Linked DNA regions of Homo sapiens: region 1 is linked to region 2. The links are contacts of gene promoters, found by promoter capture Hi-C in blood cells and fetal thymus (Javierre and others, 2016). All regions are on one chromosome and are shown on one strand. Each heading gives the region's core, a stretch centred on a gene start or on the middle of the fragment in contact. The rest is flanking DNA. Distances are from core to core; before and after follow the strand shown.

Region 1 (3,187 bases), core at 597-3,096, 840 kb after region 2:
GGTAAGCACTCAATAAATTTAGCTGGGATTATTTTTATTATATTACTCTATGCATGAGGCCATGGAATAAAGTTGGGAAAATCACATACCCAGACAGACTACTTGAACTATAAATGTGGAATCACAAACCTCAGTTGCGTCCTTGATACTGTCTGGCAACTCTATTCATCTCCCTAGTACATTTGCTCTCAATGCCTTCAGCTCTTACTTCAAATCTCCCTCACCCTCAGCTGATGACCTTCCTTTCTGCTACATGGAGAAAACAGAAGCCATCAGAAAACTACTGTCATCTGATCATCACCCAATATAGAAAATATACCCACATCTGGACTCATATTCTCCATCTTCTCTCCAATCTAATGGAGGAAGGTTCCCAAAGGCCAGCCCTTTACTTGGGTTTCAGGTTCCCTCCCTAAGGCTTTCCAAGGACTTTCCTCCTGTAGTTTTTTCTTTTCTCTACATCTTTGGTTCCTCCCTAAATGACCCCTCAATGATCCTCACCACCTGGTGTTTATAACCTTGTAAAATTCCCTCTCCTTAGGTTGTGGGTGGAACCTGTGACTTACTTCTAACCAACAGAATATGGCCAAGTTTCTGGCCTATTCCTCCTGACTACATTGCATTATGCAAGGCTCCATCTTGCTGGCAGGCAGGCTCTAAGATTCTCCTTGCTGGCTTGATGAAGTAAGAGGCCAAGCTAAGGAGTCCCATGTGACAAAAAACAGCAGTAAGTAGGGAAGGGGAGGGGGAGAAGAGCTCTACAAGCTGAGAACAACTTCCAACTGATAACCAGCAAGAAGCTAGGACCCTCAGTCCTACAGATGCAAGGGAATGAATTCTGCCAACAATCTATGTAAGCTTACAAGTTAATTATTCCCTGGTCAAGCCTTCAGATGAGAACTCAACCCATGTAGCACCCTGATTGCAGCCTTGTGAGACTCTTCACAGAAAACCTAGTTAAGCTGAGCCTAGACTCCTAACCCACAGAAACTCTAAGAACTGTTTTAAAGCAAAAAAAAATTTGTAGTAATTTGTTACACTACACTACAATAGAAAACTAATAACCCCTCTTCCACATAATTCCCATGATGCTTTAGTCATAACACTAGGGTCTACTGTATCCCATCTTTTAAAAAAACCTAGGCCATAGGCCTTCCAGCTATTCCTCCTCCTCTTTGTTCTCCTTTCCAAAAAACTTGTCAAAAGAGTTTTTCCTGTGTCCCTCTGTCCACACCTCTCATCGGCTGCTCAGCCTACTCCAAGCACATCACTCAAACTTCTCTTGTCAAGGACACTAGTAAGTTCCATCTTATCTAATCCAAATGAACATCTCTCTCTCTCTTTCTTATTCTATATCTCAGCAGCATTCAATACAGTTCATTACTCCCCACCCACTTTTTGGAACTATTTCTTCTCTTGGCTTATTGGACTTTAGATTTTCTAGTTTTCCTTCTACTTATTTGGCTGCTGCTTCTCAATAGTGTTTGCTGGCTTCTCCATTTACACCCAAACTTAAATAGTGCTGTGCCCCAGAATCAGGCCCCAGGCTCTCCTCTCTTGGCCCCCTGCACTCCCTTAAAGCCCCCAGGCTTTACATGACATTAACATACTGATGTCGCTCAAATTCCTCCCACTATCCCTGACCTCTCCTATCCACTCCCCATCTCACCACCATCTGCCTAACCACACCCTCCACCTGGTTGTCCAATAGTCATCTCAGAATTCACATGCACAAAACAGAAAACCTGATTTTTGTTCTCTCGGTTTTCCTAATCTTAGTAAATGGTACCTTCAACCAACATTTACATCATGGTCTCATCCTGGATTCCTCCCTTTCCTTCATTACCCATCAACCAACCCATCCACAAGTTCTTGTAGGTTGATCCTCACAATAGATTCTGAATTTGCCATCTCCTGCCAATCTCTAACTCCAAGCTGCCCTCTCCCTCCCTTGGTCTGTGTAGTGACAGCCACCCAACTGGCCTCCCTGCCTCTACTACTGTCCTCCACACAGCATGGATCTTTTGAAAACTACAAATTACCTTGTAAGACTTTATTGCTTAAAACTTTTCAAAGATTTCACTATCCTTTTAAAGGGCCCACCAGGCTCTCTTTGCAGGCACCTCCCAGCCTCCTTGACATATCTCATACCTACCAAGTTCCAGCCACACTCACCCTTTTCTCCTTTCCACCTCAAGACTTGCAACTGCTACTCCCTCTGCCTGGAAAGCTCTTCCCATGCGAAATGTCTCATATCTCAGGTCAAATGTTCCCTCCTCAGAGAGATCTCACCCACAGTAGCTTTCTCTTCTTCCTTTGAAACTCTAAGATATCATGATTTTCTTCACAGGACACACCACAATCTGAAGTGTTATTCTTGCTTATGCATGTACATCTGCATCTATGTATTTGATTGTTGCTATGATGCCTCTCACTAGATGTGAGCATCAGGAAGGTGTCCACTGCTATGTTCTAGAATAGCTGCTAGCACATAATAGGTGTTCAATAAATATTTGTTGAATAAATGAATGCATGAATATATGTAAGAGGTTAACATTCGTATATGCATTATAATAAAATTATCTAGTGATATTCCATTAGAAAATCTCTTCAGATACAGTGTCTTTAAAAGAGTAATTTAAAAGATAAACCTCAAATGACTCCAACATTCTGTGTAAATTTCTGAAGTTGTGGGCAAATGAGAGTGTTATAAAATGAAGCCCATTTTGAAAGAATTTAAAGGAAATTTACTTGAAGATGTGAAAAACCTTTACTGATCAAGTGAATTATCACACTCATTATTCTGTTTTTACGGATTTGATTTTTTCCCTATATTAAGCTTGTTTTCATCACAGAGCATAAATTATTATTGTTTCTATCACAAATTGTGCAATCACTATTCAAACCACAGGACACACTTTCAGTATTTCTGGACAAAAATGCTAAGGAGTCACTACTCTTGATATTCAATGTCACTGACACCATGTGACTTCATTTCAAACCCAGCTATATCTTGTAGCCATACAATGCAGGCTTTTCAACAGACCATGGTAATGAATGTGGTCACGGTTTGGATTTCAACAAGCAGCTGTCAAAAACTATCATCCCAAATAACTACTTGCTGAAAATTTCTCACTCCCAGAGCTGGTACTTCCAGGGTGGTCTAGGAAATAAATTTCTGCCCACA
Region 2 (3,126 bases), core at 164-2,663:
CTGCGGTCCCAGCTATGAAGCAGGAGGATCACTTGAGCCCAGGGGGTTTAGCAGTGAACTGAGATCATGCCACCACACTCCAGCGTGGGTGACAGAGCGAGACCCTGTCTCAAAAAACAACAAAACAAACAAAAAAATCCAAAAAACAAAAAAGTAGAAAACAGAGGCAGAAAAGACAGGCCAGGAAGAGATTCTCCTAGAAGCTACGGAAAAGAACACAACTTCACCAACACCTTGATTTTAGACCAGTGAGATCCCGTCTGACTTCTCACAACCCTAACAACAACACATTTCCTGTGTTTTACGCCACTAAATTTGTAGTAATTTGTTACAACAGAAAATAATAAACTAATATACCAGGCTTCTTCTAGTCCTTGGATTTCAGAAAAATTTTGACATCAGTAATTGCTACTAAAATGACCCTATAACCCAGGACACTGCCAGTCTTGTGAACTGTTTGGTACTACTCCCTAGGAAGAAAAATACAGAAATTGAGAGTTTATTTGTATATAATTCAATTTCATGTCTGCTGAGTTTAATTATTAAAAACTTAGGCTTGTAATTTTATTTCTTCCATTTCATTTATCTATAAATTTATGGTATTTTACAAAAGTACTGGCTGAGACAAACGGAGATTTTACTTTACTTTTTAAAAAAAGAAGACATTTACAAAAGAGAGGTGAAGCGCTGACAAGTTAAATCACTTGCCCAAGTTCAGAAAGTGATTCATCACCCAGTCATTAAATTAACAAATGTTTATGAAGGGCCTTCTACTCCAGACAGCAAGCTCCATGCTAGAGCTACTGTTCAGAACAAGACCCAGCAGAGCCCTGCCTCTCCGTGTGAGTCCCATTCTCCTTAGCGTCCCAGGAATCGCCCTAGATCGCCTCCCCAGCAGCGCTCCCCGCTGGTTACCTTCCCACCAGCATTCAATCCCAGGAAAACAAGCGCAGTGTGGACAGACCCGGCCCAGTACGCAAATGCCACACAAAAGGACAACGAAAGGAAGAAAAACACCAAGCACAGATTCTAGGGGCCGAGGGCTGAGCCACAACGCACCGCAACTCCGGAAAACTGGGCCCCGGACCTCAGCTCCCCTTCCTAAGCCAGGCTCCGCCCCTATTCCCGACCCCGCCCACCGCGTCGTTGGCGTAATTCCCGCGACTCCCTCTCACCCGCCCGGGCTCCACCTTCTGTAGGGGCTCCACCTTCTGTAGAAGCTCCGAGTGCCGCTCCAACGCGCTCGCGAAACCGCCTGCGCGCGTCTTAGGCTCCTTGGCATTGGAACTACCACTTTCGGATCCACTCTCAGTGCCTACACCCCGAAAGGGCCTGAAGAAGAGAAACACTCGCAGAAAATGGCTCTCGGCAGCCACAGCACGGGTCCGACACAGCGCCGCCATGACTTCTTTACCTCTGACCTTTGACCTCCCCTCCGCAAGCGCGCGGGTCACGGGGCGGAGCTATGAGAGGTCCGCCCCCCGGACGCAGAGCTCTGGAGGCCAACGAGGCGTGTCTTCCTTTCATCTGGGAGTGGCGTGGGGAAGAAGAGACTTAAGCTAAAATTGGTGGGCTAAATAGTTGGAAAGGGGCCTGGTTAAGTTTTGCGTTAGAAGTGCGTTTAACTTGCAGGAATTTCGCCTTCCTGGGCATCCGTTGGACCCCATTGTACTGTAAATTCTGCTAACGCGACGCTCGTTCTCCCGCCCTGCCGTCCCCCCTACATGGCCGCCAGCACTCGAGTTTGGGGTCTTCACTCAAATATGAGGGTCTCCTTGATTACCCTATTTAGAAGTGGAAGCCCAAATGCAGACTCTCTGGCACCTGTTTTTCTTAGTACCATGTAGCACTTTCTAATATGCCACATATTAATATTAAATATTTAATAATATTTAGTGTCTACTCCCAACTTTTTAAACTTTGAAAAGAGGAACTTTGCTGTAGGGTCCCTAGCACCAGGCACAGATTAGGGCTCACCCAACATTTGCCAAACCCTGCATCCAAGTTTGTCCTTTGCCACTTCTGCAGCCAGTCCACTCACGCCACAAAAATAGTTTTTCTGAAATGTTTTGACACCTCTAGATACCTATTATCTAACTTAGGAGTTCAGAAGTTTTGGAATGTCCCTAAGTATTGCACCGCCGTAGGCCCCCACCCTCACTCTGGATTTTCTTTCCCTTTTCTCCTGCAGTGTTAATTCCCAAAATTTACCCACCCTGTTCAAAACAGCCTAACATCATTCTTAAGTGTTTATTAATTAGTTGTCCGTCTATCTTTGACCCAGCAGTTTAATATTAATCCACAGTTAGTTTTATTTTGGGGGCACACACCTTTCCAGTTCATTTGCAAGTACTTCGAGAGAAAGAATTTTTATGATCACAGACCCTATTTTAAGAATGCCTTGACTATGGGTTTTAAGCTTTTCTGATGCTCTCTAATGGTACAGATAGTGTTAAGAACACGAAGTACACTGATCTCAGAATGGTGCACAATTGTATGAATCACATAAAATTATTACTAGCTAACTGTATGGTAGTCCTTACAAATTCATTAAATTCTCCAGGTGAGTTCTCCCTCTTGGCAGTTAAAACTGTTTATCTCCCGAGACTATTAATGGACTCTTGCCTAGAACATTATTTTCTACGGATAGTGCTACTTCCACTTTTTTTCAGGAGAAAGTGTGGTAAATTGTAAAGAGCATGGCCAGTGGTCTTCAAGAACCCTCAGTCTGACTGGGCAGGGTGGCTTACACTTGTAATCCCAGCACTTTGTGAGGTTGAGGAGGGAGGATTGCTTGAGATGAGGAGTCCGAGACCAGCTTGGGCCATAGCAAGAACCAGTCTCTACCAAAAAATAGAAAAATCAGCCTGGGGCAGTGGTGCATGCCTGTAGTCCCGGCTACTTGGGAGGCTGATGGAGGAGGATCACTTGAGCCCAGGAGTTTGAGGCTGCAGTGAGCTATGTTCCTGCCACTTCACTCCAGCATGGGTGAAAAGTGCAAAACTCAAGTATCCGTAAAAACACACCCCTGGCGTGGTGGCTCACACCTGTAATCCCAGCACTTTGGGAGGCCAAGGAGGGCAGATCACCTGAAGTCAGGAGTTCGAGATCAGCCTGGCCAACATG

Evidence for each region. The method cuts DNA at HindIII sites, captures the fragments that hold promoters and counts their contacts. A CHiCAGO score of 5 or more calls a contact.
Region 1: a fragment that was not itself captured here is called in contact with the fragment with the promoter of MRPS28 in region 2 in 1 of 17 cell types (fetal thymus); the score reaches 6.0 in fetal thymus.

What each region holds. Positions count from the first base shown.
Region 1 is chr8:80,869,171-80,872,357 of GRCh38, forward strand. The region is part of intron 1 of ZNF704 (zinc finger protein 704); the gene reads right to left. Among named protein-coding and RNA genes, the nearest start is that of ZNF704, 4.0 kb to the right of the region's middle. The HindIII fragment of the contact is 1,981 bases long and covers 857-2,837 here.
Region 2 is chr8:80,028,846-80,031,971 of GRCh38, forward strand. It overlaps MRPS28 (mitochondrial ribosomal protein S28), which reads right to left and starts at 1,414. Exons shown (of 3, transcript NM_014018.3): 1 at 1,191-1,414. The coding sequence starts at 1,403. All of the region lies in intron 5 of TPD52-MRPS28 (TPD52-MRPS28 readthrough), which reads right to left. It also overlaps a transcript of TPD52 not described here. RefSeq lists an enhancer at 1,137-1,566. The HindIII fragment of the contact is 3,845 bases long and covers 1-2,417 here.